Regions from separate parts of the Homo sapiens genome. Here regions 1 and 2 are each linked to region 3. Evidence: promoter capture Hi-C in 16 types of primary human blood cells and fetal thymus (Javierre and others, 2016). All regions are on one chromosome and are shown on one strand. The core of a region is centred on a gene start or on the middle of the fragment in contact, and the rest is flanking DNA. Distances in the headings are between cores, read along the strand shown. Region 1 overlaps LINC00663 (long intergenic non-protein coding RNA 663). Region 2 holds the start of LOC124904664 (a long non-coding RNA gene). Region 3 holds the start of LPAR2 (lysophosphatidic acid receptor 2).

Region 1 (4,977 bases), core at 524-3,023, 140 kb before region 3:
CGGCTGTAATCCCAGCACTTTGGGAGGCTGAGGCGGGTGGATCACGAGGTCAGGAGTTTAAGACCAGCCTGGCCAAGATGGTGAAACCCCGTCTCTACTAAAAATACAAAAAAATTAGCCGGGCGCGGTGGCAGGCGCCTGTAATCCCAATTACTCAGGAGGCTGAGGCAGGAGAATCGCTTGAACTTGGGGGGCGGAGGTCGCAGTGAGCCGAGATCGTGCCACTGCACTCCAGCCTCGGTGACAGAGTGAGACTCCATCTCAAAAAAAAAAGAAAAGAAAAGAAAAAAAGAAAAGGGCCATGTGAGGATACAGAGGAAGGTGGCGCCATACGCAGAGGGCTCAGGAGAAACCAGCTGTCCTGGGACCTTGATCTTAGACTTCCAGCCTCCAGAACTGTGAGATGATTTATTTTAACTCACCCAGACTCTGGTATTTTCTTATGGCAGCCCTAGACGACTAATACACTTTATTATTCTTTTTATGTCTGCAGGGTATGTAATGATATCCTTTGTTTCTTTTTTTTTTTTTTTTTTTTTGAGATGGAGTCTCGCTTTGTAGCCAGACTGGAGTGCAGTGGCCCGACCTTGGCTCACTGTAATCTCCACCTCCTGGGTTCAAGCAATTCTCCTGCGTCAGCCTCCCGAGTAGCTGGGACTACAGGCACCCACCACCACGCCCAGCTAATTTTTATTTTTTGTATTTTTAGTAGAGACAGGGTTTCACCATATTGGCCAGGCTGGTCTCGAACTCCTGACCTTGTGATCCACCTGACTCAGCCTCCCAAAGTACTAGGATTACAGGCGTGAGCCACCGCGCCTGGCCGATATCCCTTGTTTCATTCCTGACAGGGTAATTTGTGTCTTGTCCTTTCCCCCACTTAGTCTTGCTTGAGGTTTGTCTATTTAATTGATCTTTTCAAAAAAAATCAGCTGTCTGTTTTATTGGTTTTTCTCTATTACTTTCTGAGTCTCAACTTTATTTCTCTTCCTATCTTTATTATTTCTTTCTTAATACTTCTTTTGTTTGGGTTTAGTTTATTAAGTTTGACCTTTTCCCAGGTTATCGATGTGGAAAATTAGATTATCTGGAGACTTAGTTTTTTTCTTTTTTTTCTTCTTTTTTTTTGAGACAGTCTTGCTCTGTCGCCCAGGCTGGGGTGCAGTGGCGCCATCTCGGCTTACTGCAAGCTCCGCCTCCTGGGTTCATGCCATTCTCCTGCCTCAGCCTGGGACTACAGGCACCTGCTGCCACGCCCGGCTAATTTTTTTTTTTTTTTTTTTTTTTTTTTTGTATTTTTAGTAGAGACCGGGTTTCACCGTGTTAGCCAGGATAGTCTGGATCTCCTGGCCTCGGCCTCCCAAAGTGCTGGGATTACAGGCTTGAACCACCGCGCCCGACCAGCCTTTTCTAATATATGAGTTTAGTGCCATCAGTTTCTTCAGTACACTGCTTTAGTTGTGTCTTACAAATTTTGATCCATTGTCTTTTCATCATCTTTGTGGTCAATGTATTTTTTGTTTTCCCAGGGACTTCCCCTTCAAGCTTGCAAGAGTTGGAGATGTTTGCATTGTCTTCACATTATTGATTTCTAGTCTGACTCCATTATGATCCGAGAACACACTCCGTGTAATCTGATTTTTAAAATTTGTTGAAGTTTGTTTCATGGCCTAGGAGATGGTCTATCTTACTTTATGTTCCATGAGCCCTTGAAGAGAATGCATATGCTGCTGCTGTTGATTAAATTACTCTACAAATGTCAACCAGATCCTGTTGATGAATGATGGTGTTGAACTGTTGTCTTTTTTTTAGATTTGCTGCTGAAATTTTCTCTGTTCTATTGTTTAGAGAAAAATGTCAATATCTCCAACGATAATTGTGTATTTGTCTTATTGTCTGTTTCTCCTCTGTTTGTTCCAGTTTTTGTTTCACATTTTTCATGTCTGTTGATTTATGCCTACACATTTAGGACTGCTGGGTCTTCTGGGTGGATTAAGCTTTTTATCATTATGTAATTTCTCTCCATGTCTCAATTTTTTTCTCTGAAATCTACTTTATCCGATATTATTGTAACTACTCATGCTTTCCTTGATTACTTGTATCTTTTTCCAGCTTCTTATACTTTATTTATTTATTTTAAATTTATTTTTGATATGGAGTCTCACTCTGTTGCCCAGGCTGGAGTACAGTGGCGTGATCTCGGCTCACTGCAACTTCTGCCTCCCCAGTTCAAGCGATTCTCCTGCCTCAGCCTCCCAAGTAGCTGGGATTATAGGCACCAGCCACCACACCTGGCTAATTTTTGTATTTTTAGTAGAGCCAGGGTTTCACTATGTTGGCCAGGCTGGTCTTGAACTCCTGACCTCAAGTGATTCGCCCACCCCAGCCTCCCAAAGTGCTGGGATTACAGGCGTGAGTGAGCCACCACGCCTTGCCCAGCTTCTTATACTTTAAATTTACCTTTTTTTTTCTGATTTTATTCTGCTTTTTTTTTTTTTTTTTTTTTTTTTTTTTAGTATTTATTGATCATTCTTGAGTGTTTCTCGGAGAGGGGGATTTGGCAGGGTCATAGGACAATAGTGGAGGGAAGGTCAGCAGATAAACAAGTGAACAAAGGTCTCTGGTTTTCCTAGGCAGAGGGCCCTGCCGCCTTCCACAGTGTTTGTGTCCCTGGGTAGTTGAGATTAGGGAGTGGTGATGATTCTTAGAGCATGCTGCCTTCAAGCATCTGTTTAACAAAGCACAACTTGCACCGCCCTTAATCCATTTAACCCTTAGTGGACACAGCACCTGTTTCAGAGAGCACGGGGTTGGGGGTAAGGTTATAGATTAACAGCATCCCAAGGCAGAAGAATTTTTCCTAGTACAGAACAAAATGGAGTCTCCTATGTCTACTTCTTTCTACACAAACACAATAACAATCTGATCTCTCTTTCTTTTCCCCACATTTCCCCCTTTTCTATTCGACAAAACCGCCATTGTCATCATGGCCCGTTCTCAATGAGCTGTTGGGTACACCTCCCGGACGGGGCGGCTGGCCGGACGGGAGCTGCCCCCCACTTCCCAGATGGGGCGGCTGCCGGGCGGAGGGGCTCCTCACTTCTCAGACGGGGCGGCCGGGCAGGGACGCTCCTCACCTCCCAGATGGGGTGGCGGCGGGGCAGAGACACTCCTCAGTTCCCAGACGGGGTCGCGGCCGGGCAGAGGCACTCTTCACATCTCAGATGGGGCGGCAGGGCAGAGGTGCTCCCCACATCCCAGATGATGGGCGGCCAGACAGAGACGCTCCTCACTTCCTAGACGGGATGATGGCCGGGAAGAGGCACTCCTCACTTCCCAGACTGGGCGGCCGGGCAGAGGGGCTCCTCACATCCCAGACGATGGGCGGCCAGGCAGAGACGCTCCTCACTTCCTAGACGGGGTGGCGGCCGGGCAGAGGCTGCAATCTCGGCACTTTGGGAGGCCAAGGCAGGCAGTTGGGAGGTGGAGGTTGTAGCGATCCGAGATCACGCCACTGCACTCCAGCCTGGGCAACATTGAGCACTGAGTGAGCGAGACCCCGTCTGCAATCCCGGCACCTCGGGAGGCCGAGGGTGGCAGACCACTCGCAGTCAGGAGCTGGAGACCAGCCCGGCCAACACGGCGAAACCCCGTCTCCACCAAAAAATACGAAAACCATCAGGTGTGGCGGCGCGCGCCTGCAATCGCAGGCACTCGGCAGGCTGAGGCAGGAGAATCAGGCAGGGAGGCTGCAGTGAGCCGAGATGGCGGCAGTACCGTCCAGCCTCGGCTCCGCATCAGAGGGAGACTGTGCAAAGGGGAGACGAGGACCGTGCAAAGGGGAGAGGGAGGGGGAGGGGGAGAGGGAGAGGGCTTATTCTAAATTTACCTTTTTATATTGGAAGTGAGTTTCTTCTAAAGAGAATATGCATGGTCATATTTATTAATCAGTGTTGTCAGGCCGGGAACAGTGGCTCACGCCTGTAATCCCAGCACTTTGGGAGGCTGAGGCGTGCGGATCACGAAGTCAGAAGATCGAGACCATCCTGGCTAACACGGTGAAACCCCGTCTCTACTAAAAATACATAAAAAATAGCCGGGCGTGGTGGCGGGCACCTGTAGTGCCAGCTACTCGGGAGGCTGAGGCAGGAGAATGGCGTGAACCTGGGAGGCGGAGCTTGCAGTAAGCCAAGATCTCGCCACTGCACTCCAGCCTGGGCGACAGAGGAGATTCCGTCTCAAAAAAAAAAAAAAAATCAATGTTTTCAATCTTTGTCTCTAATTGATTATTTTATTTTATTTATTTATTTTTGACTGGTGGCAGTAGAATTTATTCAAATGTGCCTTAATACAGGTGCTAGGGCTTGCCGGTGGTGCTCTTGTTATATAAGGGCCGGACATTCTGCCGGTTTTCCGTGAGCAGTGACATCAGGAAGTTTACAGCCAGGTGAATGTTACACACATCGTCTGTGTGTAACATCGTCTGTCATCTTCACGTGGCTGACAGCCACAGCCAGACATAGCACCTTCTTCATTTGGGTGTTGATTGTGAACTTCACCTCATCCACTTTGGCCAGCATGTTTTTGTTGTGTGTCAGCGGAGATCTACTTGGTTAATTCAGAACATTTAACAGTTAAGTTAATTTTGTTAAAACTAGCCTGATACGTTGTTTTCTGTTTGTTCTCTCTGTTTTGTTCCTCTGTGTGATTTTTACTTTCTTCATGTAGATAATTTGAACATGTTTTAAAATTTCATTTATTTGTAGTGTTTTTGAGTATAGCTTTTTTAGTGTTAGATCAACGTATTACATTATATTCAGAAATTATCGTAGTTAACAATGTTTCAATTGTTCCTTGATATTCAAATACAATTTATAAAACACAAAAGGGAAAGAAAGCCTATTGTATCTACCCTCATTTTATCCCAGCATAGAAGGCACATTGGATAAAAGTTTTGTTTGATAAGGTGTCTTTCCT
Region 2 (4,594 bases), core at 1,804-4,303, 240 kb before region 3:
AAAAGGCAGAGACACAATTCTGCCTGCATATTTAGGGGACAGCATGCACTTTGCTGCACAACTCTGAGCTGACTGGAAGCCAGAGAGGGAAAGTCCCCTCTAGAGTAAATTTTGGATGGCACTTTATGTGTTTGTATCATGTCTGGTAATTCTAGACAGTGTTTGGAAACAATAATTAAAAGAAAAATTTCCTCCAGCCCCAGAAAATCTTCACAATAAGACAAAAGAAAGAAAATGGTTTTATTACACAATTGAACTTGAATGTGATATGCATCATCGTCAATCTGCTTAAGAGGCTCCAAAGACAGAAAGATGGTCACCATAATTAGTCTACAATTAGAAGAATTTCCAGCACCATGTCATACATAGTTCATCCTAAATTCACCTGGAGATTGAAGAGGCCATCTGTGTATGTTAATTGCTTATATTCAATGACAAACTTTTCACATCTTCATAACAGGATGTAGTTTAGCAGCTTGAAGCCAGGTGTCTGCTGAAGGCAGGATTTCACTCTGCTACAAAAATGGCTGAGTAGCATTCTATCTTTTTGGCTATTTACATTTTAAAGCAGTGGCTCTGTACTCCCTGGCACTGGGCTACAGCACTCCTGCTTGCTTTCTCCTGAATGCTAGTGTCCTTCCTCTCTTGACCTCTACCATCTGCCACTGAGGCACAGTTCAGAGCACAGCTCACATTTTATATGAACCCCATTTGCCACAGCAGCACTCCAGTGTCACATCAGAGTGAGGCCTGAGCTGCAGGAGGAGAGCCTGCAGGCCTCATGGGTAGAATTGCACCTTCACAATCATGGGAATGTGAGCAGTGTTTCAGCCTCAGTTTCTACTTGTAATGGTGACAAGGAAAAAATACTGCTGAATTTCCAGCATGAGTCCAGATAGAGATAGCTCCAAAAGTTCTCACTGTGAGAGTCCACCTCATTTGGACACCATAGGATAGTAATAGGGCTTCTGAAACAGACATCCAAAGCATTGGAGAGAAAAACAGATCTCCATCTGAGCCAGATTATTTTGAGAGAAAAATGTAAAAAAGATCTTTTAAAAAAGCTCAGGTTAGATATCAGATTGATCAAATGAGCCAGAAAATGTTCCCCTAAAAGCAATTTCTCTCTAACCACCCAAAGTACACAGCTGCTCTCATCATGAGAAACATGAGCATTACGAAGAAAGAGGGCAGATTTTCAGAAGAATTTTATAAAGTTTCTTTTCCATCTCTGCTGCTCTCTCATCTCCTAGCCACTGAATGGGGGTTCTATATTGAAATACATCTGACAACTTCCAACAACACTTTAAGATGAAGAAATAGAATTTGACTGTGTTCATATAGTGGAATATGTTACAACTTGCAACACAGCTAACTGAATAGCTATTATGGTGTTTGGGTGGCCACATCACCTGTCTTTATTTTTCCTGTAATAGCAGCATTCCAACTTAGTGAAATAAAAGATAATAAAATTGTGTTTACTCATAATTATTCCTATTGAGTAAAGTAATAAACATGTCAGACTAATATCTACTCTAACAATTTGGTAGTAAATTTTCTTTGGACATTAGATATAAATATCTAACTATGAATAATTTTAATGAACAGGTCATAATATATGTAGCTTTTTTTTTTTTTTTTGAGACACAATCTCATTCTGTCACCCAGGCTGGAGTGAAATGGTGCAATCTCAGCTCACTGCAACTTCTGCCTCCCAGGAACAAGCGATTCTCCTGCCTCAGCCTGCCAAGTAGCTGGGATTACAGGCGCGTGCCACCACACCCAGCTAATTTTTTATTTTTAGTAGAGATGGGGTTACACCATGTCAGGCTGGTGTCGAACTCCTGACCTCAGGTAATTAACCTGCCTCAGCCTCTCAAAGTGTTGGAATTACAGGTGTGAGCCACTGCACTCGGCAATGTATGTAGTATTTTTAAAAACTGCAACTATACTTCAGTTAAAACACTTTATATTTCAAAAGTATAAATAACAATATTAAAATAACCATTTAAGTGAATCATTCAAAGTAAGTATTGTGGCTTTATGTTCATACTATTGTAGAAAATATTGTTTTTGGCTCACACCGGTAATACCAGCACTTTTGGAGGCTGAAGCAGGTGCATCACCTGAGGTCAGGAGTTCGAGACCAGTCTGACCAACATGGTGAAATCCTGTCTCTACTAAAAATACAAAAAAGTAGCCGGACATGGTGGTGCATGCCTGTATTCCCAGCCACTCGGGAGGCTGAGGCAGGAGAATTACTTGAAACCAGAAGGCAGTGATTGCAGTGAGCCAAGATTACACCACTGCACTCCAGCCTGGGCAACAGAGTAAGACTGTTTTTTAAAAAAAAAAAAAAAAAAAAAAAAAAAGGCCAGGCATGGTGGCTCATGCCTGTAATCCCATCACTTCGGGAGGCTGAGGCAGGCAGATCACCTGAGGTCAGGAGTTCAAGACCAGCCTGATCAACATGGAAAAACCGCATCTCTATTAAAAATACAAAATGAGCTGGGCCTGGTGGTGCATGCCTGTAATCCCAGCTACTGGGAGCTGAGACAGGAAAATTGCTTGAACCTGGGAGGCAGAGTTTGCCTGAGCCGAGATCAAACCATTGCACACCATCCTGGACAACAAGAGCAAAACACCTCGAAAAAAAAAATGTTTAATTTATATTAATGCAGTTTGCCTACAAACCCTACACATAACTATCCTAATTGTTCTGAAGTAATAAATAGAAAGCAAGATACAACTACAGACTCCACTGTTTATGCACTGTTCTTGCTTTTGCAGTATAAGTACTTCAGCCTGCAAATATTGGATAATTACCTTGGATAATCAGGTTTCTGTAAAAGAAACTTAATACCTTTTAGTCTTTAGCATTCTGCATTGCTAAATTTAATCCTATCTTTCTGCTAAGCTTCTGTGTGCTCTTAAAATGAGCTTTTATCTAAACAAATCTGTGTCTAATTTAAAGGACTAAAAATGAAAAAAATAAACTTTTCAGAAGCAAAAATAAAGCAATAATTCTGAAGTACTACATAAAGATAATCTGGACCCGAGAAAATGACAAAGGGTTTATTTAGCTGTTCATATGATTTACATGTATTTCAAAAAAAGCAGAGAAAAGCATCTACATATAACCTAAATTCCTTAAGAAAAGAGAGAATATCAAAATATTTTTTAAGCTTTTTATTTATTTATTATACTTTAAAGTTCTGGGGTACATGTGCATAACGTGCAGGTTTGTTACATAGGTATACACGTGCCATGAAGGTTTGCTGCACCCATCAAACCATTATTTACACTAGGTATTTCTCCTAATGCTGTCCCTCCCCTAGCCCCCCAATCCCCTTTTTTGGAACTTTTTAAAGAGTTTTTGAACTCTTGGACATCAGAATTTTACACACTGTATGCACTTGAAAAAATGCTTATGGGGGAAAAAGCAGAAGAGAGAAAGATATTATAAAAAAAAGTTCATGAGTGCACAAGACCAATGCAACAGAATAGAGAGCCCAGAAATAATGCCACCCTCCTACCATCATCAGATTTTTGGCAAAGCTGATAAGAGAAATGTGGAAAGAATTCTCCATTTAATAAATGGTGCTGGAATAACTAGCTAGCACTATGTAGAAGACTGAAAGTGGACCCCTTCATTACACAATATACAAAATCAACTCAAGATTAATTAAAGACTTAAATGAAAAACTTAAAATTGTAAGAAACCTTGCAAGATAACCTAGGAAGTACCATTCTAGACACAGAAACTGGCAAACACTTCATGATGAAGCTACCAAAAGCAATTGCAACAAAAGCAAAAATTGACAATGGGACCTATTTGAACTAAAGAGCTTCTTCACAGCAAAGGAAACTATTAACAGAGTAAACAGACAACCTACAGAATAAAAAAAATTTGCAAACTTTGCCTCTGACAAAAGTCTAATATCCAGAATTTATTAAGAACTTAAACAAGTTTACAAGAAAAAAAAAATCTCATTAAAAAATAGGCCAAAAAAACATGAATAGATGCTTTTCAAAAGAACATATACATGTGGCTAGCAAGCATATGAAAAAAAAAAAGCTCATCACTAATCATTAGAGAAATTAAGAGAAACCACAATGAGATACCACATCACACCAGTCAGAATGGCTATTTTTAAAAAGTCAAAAAATAACAGATGCTGGCAAGGTTGCAGAGAAAAGGGAATGCTTATACTCTACCTCATAATTGGGTATATACCCAAAGAAATATAAATTATTGTATTATAAAGATACATTCATATGTATGTTCATTGCAGCACTATTCACAATAGCAAAGACATGGACAGGCCCTATCAGTGGTAGACTGGATAAAGAAAACACGGTATGGTCAGATGCGGTGGCTCATGCCTGTAATCCCAGCACTCTGGGAGGCTGAGGCAGGTGGATTGCCTGAGCTTAGAAGTTTAAGACCAACCTGGGCAACATTGCAAAATCCTGTCTCCACAGAAAATACAAAGAGAAAAATTGGCCAGGCGTGGTAACACCAGCGTGTAGATCAAGCTACGTGAAAGGATGAGGTAGGAGAGAATTGCTTGAGCCAGGGAGGTTGAGGCTA
Region 3 (4,818 bases), core at 1,063-3,562:
ACTCCACAGAGTGACCAGAGAGAGGACGTGGCTGAAGACACCAAAGATGGGGGAGGGGAAGGTGAGTATGTTAGAGAGAGGCTCAGGAGTTCTGGGGGTGCCCTGGCCCCAGGGTGGCTTGCTAAAAGATGACTCCTGGGGGGATATACAGAGAACTTGGAGGTGCTCTGCACTGACCACCCACCCCGTACACAGTGTCCAGCCAAGGCCCAGAGGACTCACTCCTGGGGACACAGTCTCGTGGCCACTTCAGCCGCCAGCCAGTGAAGTATCCCCGGGGCGGTGTGAGGCCTGTAACCCACCAGCTGTCCAGTCTGGCCCTGGTGGCTTCCAAGCTGTGCGAGGAGACCCCCATCACATCAGTGCCCAGAGGGAGTTTGCGGGGGCGGGGGCCCAGCCCTGCAGCTGCCTCCCCTGAGGGCAGCCCCCTGCGCCGCACCCCGCTGCCCAAGCATTTTGAGATTACCCAGGAGACAGCCCGGCTACTCTCGAAATTGGACAGCGAGGCTGTGCCCAGGGCCACCTGCTGCCCGGACGTCCAGCCTGAGGAAGCCGAGGACCATCTCTGACCACCCTGGCACCTTAAATAAGGAAGAGGCCCAGATTGTGAAGACGGACCCATATATCCCTACCTCCCACCACCTAGTGGCCAAACACCCCGCCAGGAGTTCAATGCTGGGAGAGGTCCAGAGGGTTCCTATAAGGAAAAACTATTTAATACATGACCTAGGGGAGGCCTAAAACCCTTTTGGGGATAATGTCCCAGAGTCCCCCCACTAGACACAGGTCACTGCCAAGCATCAGGGCCACTCGGGCTCAGAGGTCACTCAGGGTCAATACTCAGGGTCAGTGCAGGTTATGAGATCCTTGGGGTCCACCCTAGTCTCTGACACCTGGGACAGGGGTGCTTTTGCTACTTTGGTTGTGGTCACTCCCCCACACCTGCCTGCCTCCTTCACGGACTCGAAGTGACCTTCCTGGAGGAGGTGGGCAGCTCAGACTCCACATGCTGGTGGTGCCTGAGGTCTGATGGCCTCTAATAAACTGTGTCCTATATGCCCTTGGGTGCATCTCTGCTAGGGGAGAGGCCAGCATGGGTAGCACTCCTTGCCCCCATTTTACAGATTAGGGGAATCAAGGCCTCTTTTTTTTTTTTTTTTTTTTTTTTTTTTGAGACGGAGTTTTGCTCTGTCTCCAGGTTGGAGTGCAGTGGCACGATCTCCGCTCACTGCAACCTCCACCTCCCGGGTTCAAGCGATTCTCCTGCCTCAGCCTCCCGAGTAGCTGGGACTACAGGCGCCTGCCACCATGCCCGGCTAATTTTTTTGTATTTTTAGTAGAGACGGGGTTTCAGCATGTTGGCCAGGATGGTCTCGATCTCCTGATCTCGTGATCGTCCCGCATCGGCCTCCCAAAATGCAGGGATTACAGGCGTGAGCCACTGCGCCCGGCCTCAAGGCCTCCTTCTTGCATCATCAAACACCCTGCAGCACCTACGTAAAGGCAGTTGGAGCTGGGTCGCAGCACCCGGCTGAGTCACGCCAGCCCGGCCCTCCCGGAGCTCTGCGTCCCCGATCCGGTCCTGCATAATCAAATACAGTATAACAAAGTACCGATAACCGGGACAATGGGGCTGTGTGCTCCGGACCGTGGGAGCCCGGGGCCGCCGCAGGGAGGCCGAGGGAGGAAGCCACAGGGCAGGGCAGGGCAGGGCCGGGCTTTGCAGGGGGCAGCGCTGTCCCAGGGTGAGGGGTACGGGGGCGGGATTGCAAAACCCTAGCGTGCGCCCGATGATCAGCTGGGGCCGCAGAGGTGGGCCTCGCACAGGAGGCCGCGGCTCGCTGATACTGCGAGCTGGCAAAGCCGAAGCTGGGCGGGGGTCCGGGCGGTGGGAGCCAAGTCGGATCAGGGAGTGGCTTGTAACTCGGCGGCCGATTGGACACGAAGAAGAGAGCGGGGTGGGGCTGGGAGGGTTGGGGGTCCGGAGCGGGGGCGCGGACCCAAGACCACCTGGAGCTCCGCCCGGGCAGCGCGGGGTCACGGCGGGAATTTTCGGGTCGCCGAGTGACTCAGCCCCGCAGGCTCGAAACTGCGGGCGCATGAGGTGTGCAGGTACCGGGGTGGGGGTCCCGCGCCGGAAATAGGGGCGACTGAGGGGCCGCGAGGCGGGGAGGAAACAGGGGGGCTGCGGTTCCGGGCGACACCGCCCCCGACGCGGCCGTGGAGGCGGGGCTCCCCCAGGTGGCGGGGCGGGGCAGGGCTCCCCCAGGTGGTGGGGGCGGGGCGCCGGGGAGACCCCGCCTCCCGCGCCCTCTCAGCAACCCGCACAGGGCGCACCCGGACGCTCTACCGCTCCCGCCGCAGTCGCCGGGCCATGGGCCTCGAGCCCGCCCCGAACCCCCGCGAGCCCGCCTTGTCTGCGGCGTGACTGGAGGCCCAGGTGAGGCCTGCACGGACGGGAGGCGGGCGGGTGCGGGCCTGGGCCCGGGGGAAGGGCGCGGCACGTGCCTGCGGGGCCAGGACGCCGCCCTCTGATCCCTTAACCCCCTACCCCTTCCCCAGTCTGGAGACGCCTGGAGGCCCGGCCATCCATCCCTTCCCCAACCGCTGTCTTTGTCCCGGAGACCGCCAGTGTCCTCCGTCCCACCCGGAACAGCCTATTGCCCCGCCCGCTTGGGAAGCACTCGCGCCCAAATCCCGCCGACTAACTTCTGGGGCCGCCTCTCTGTCCACTCCGATCACCTCCACGCCTCGGCACCGCCCCCTCGCAGGGTTCTAGCAAGTGACCTCACCCTTGTGTGCACACGCTCCCGGGTCTCTGCTCCCTACACTGACTCCGGCACCAAAGTGATCCTCCCTCATCTCTTCCCGCAGCTCACACCCCTTTGTCTTTCCCTAACCCTCCTCTCCCCACAACCCAAACCGGGTCACACATTGGCGGCAGGTGGGCTGGGATTCGACCATAGATGGGTTTTGTTTCACTTCTGGTTCAAAAACCTATTGACTTGGGTGATGTCTTGCACACAGGTCTTATTAGTAGGTAAGAAACAGCTGCTCCTCCACCTCCACCCCAGCCCCATGGAGCTTGCTTTTTCCAGGCCACCGTAGTCCTCACCACTGCCACTTTGCTTCGAGGTATCTGAATTTGAGACCCTTGTCCTTCCTGCGCTGACCCTCCTCTGCAGCTGCCGCCCCTCCCTGTGTCCTTCCAAGAAGTGCCACATGCACTGATCTCTTGTGTCCCCAGATGGTCATCATGGGCCAGTGCTACTACAACGAGACCATCGGCTTCTTCTATAACAACAGTGGCAAAGAGCTCAGCTCCCACTGGCGGCCCAAGGATGTGGTCGTGGTGGCACTGGGGCTGACCGTCAGCGTGCTGGTGCTGCTGACCAATCTGCTGGTCATAGCAGCCATCGCCTCCAACCGCCGCTTCCACCAGCCCATCTACTACCTGCTCGGCAATCTGGCCGCGGCTGACCTCTTCGCGGGCGTGGCCTACCTCTTCCTCATGTTCCACACTGGTCCCCGCACAGCCCGACTTTCACTTGAGGGCTGGTTCCTGCGGCAGGGCTTGCTGGACACAAGCCTCACTGCGTCGGTGGCCACACTGCTGGCCATCGCCGTGGAGCGGCACCGCAGTGTGATGGCCGTGCAGCTGCACAGCCGCCTGCCCCGTGGCCGCGTGGTCATGCTCATTGTGGGCGTGTGGGTGGCTGCCCTGGGCCTGGGGCTGCTGCCTGCCCACTCCTGGCACTGCCTCTGTGCCCTGGACCGCTGCTCACGCATGGCACCCCTGCTCAGCCGCTCCTATTTGGCCGTCTGGGCTCTGTCGAGCCTGCTTGTCTTCCTGCTCATGGTGGCTGTGTACACCCGCATTTTCTTCTACGTGCGGCGGCGAGTGCAGCGCATGGCAGAGCATGTCAGCTGCCACCCCCGCTACCGAGAGACCACGCTCAGCCTGGTCAAGACTGTTGTCATCATCCTGGGTAAGTGGGGCCCCCAGGGGGCAACAGGGACCCTGCTTCCCCCTATCTCCCACAAGACACTGCGAAGCAATGAACAAAACAAGCTACCTGATAGAGGGTGATGGGGGATGATTTAGGTGGGGAATGTCCTCCAAGGAGGTGATAATGTATGTGAGCAGAGGCCTGAATGCTGAGGATAGGAACAGAGAGCCTTCCAGGCAGAGGAAACGGAAAGTAAAAACCTCAAGGCAGTACGAGGCCAGAGCCTCTAAAGAGGAAAGTGGGCTTGTGAGGAGGAGAGATCAGCAAGGCCTTAAGGGGCACGGACAGGAGTCTTATTTTGAGTTTCATGGGAACCCCTTAAGAGTTTTTAGCAGTGCTAGCCGGGCACAGTGGCTCACGCCTGTAATCCCAGCACTTTGGGAGGCCGAGGCGGGCAGATCAGCTGAGGTTGGGAGTTCACGACCAGCCTGACCAACATGGAGAAACCCCATCTCTACTAAAAATGCAAAATTAGCCAGGTATGGTGGTGTGTGCCTGTAATCCCAGCTACTCGGGAGCCTGAGGCAGGAGAATTGCTTGAACCCAGGAGGCGGAGGTTGTGGTGAGCCGAGATCACACCATTGCACTCCAGCCTGGGCAACAAGAGCGAAACTCCAGAACTCTGTCTCAGAAAAAAAAAAAAAAAAGGAGTTTTTAGCAGTGCTAAGCCTGTTTTAACAAAAAGCCTTTAAATTGTTTTTTAATCTATATGTATTTTTAATTTTTTTTTTTTTTTTTTGAGACAGAGTCTCGCTCTGTCACCCAGGCTGGAGTGCAGTGGCGCAATCTCGGCTCACTGCAACTTCTG

Evidence for each region. Contacts are between HindIII fragments. The CHiCAGO score rates a contact against its expected background, and 5 or more counts as called.
Region 1: a contact is called between a fragment that was not itself captured here and the fragment with the promoter of LPAR2 in region 3, in 7 of 17 cell types (monocytes, total CD8 T cells, total CD4 T cells and 4 more). The highest score is 7.4, in monocytes.
Region 2: a fragment that was not itself captured here is called in contact with the fragment with the promoter of LPAR2 in region 3 in 4 of 17 cell types (total B cells, non-activated CD4 T cells, total CD4 T cells and 1 more); the score reaches 7.0 in total B cells.

Annotation. Positions count from the first base shown.
Region 1 is chr19:19,768,358-19,773,334 of GRCh38, reverse strand. The region is part of intron 1 of LINC00663 (long intergenic non-protein coding RNA 663); the gene reads left to right. Among named protein-coding and RNA genes, the nearest start is that of LINC00663, 5.6 kb to the left of the region's middle. The HindIII fragment of the contact is 452 bases long and covers 1,548-1,999 here.
Region 2 is chr19:19,867,439-19,872,032 of GRCh38, reverse strand. The region is part of intron 1 of ZNF253 (zinc finger protein 253); the gene reads right to left. It overlaps LOC124904664 (a long non-coding RNA gene), which reads left to right and starts at 1,556. Exons shown (of 4, transcript XR_007067169.1): 1 at 1,556-4,594. It also overlaps the pseudogene BNIP3P10. The HindIII fragment of the contact is 268 bases long and covers 2,920-3,187 here.
Region 3 is chr19:19,625,714-19,630,531 of GRCh38, reverse strand. It overlaps LPAR2 (lysophosphatidic acid receptor 2), which reads left to right and starts at 2,312. Exons shown (of 3, transcript NM_001395660.1): 1 at 2,312-2,440; 2 at 3,248-3,989. The coding sequence starts at 3,257. GMIP (GEM interacting protein) reads left to right here. Exons shown (of 21, transcript NM_016573.4): 20 at 1-61; 21 at 196-1,056. The coding sequence ends at 569. RefSeq lists silencers at 1,562-1,691, 2,062-2,561 and an enhancer at 1,002-1,924. The HindIII fragment of the contact is 41,803 bases long and covers 1-4,818 here.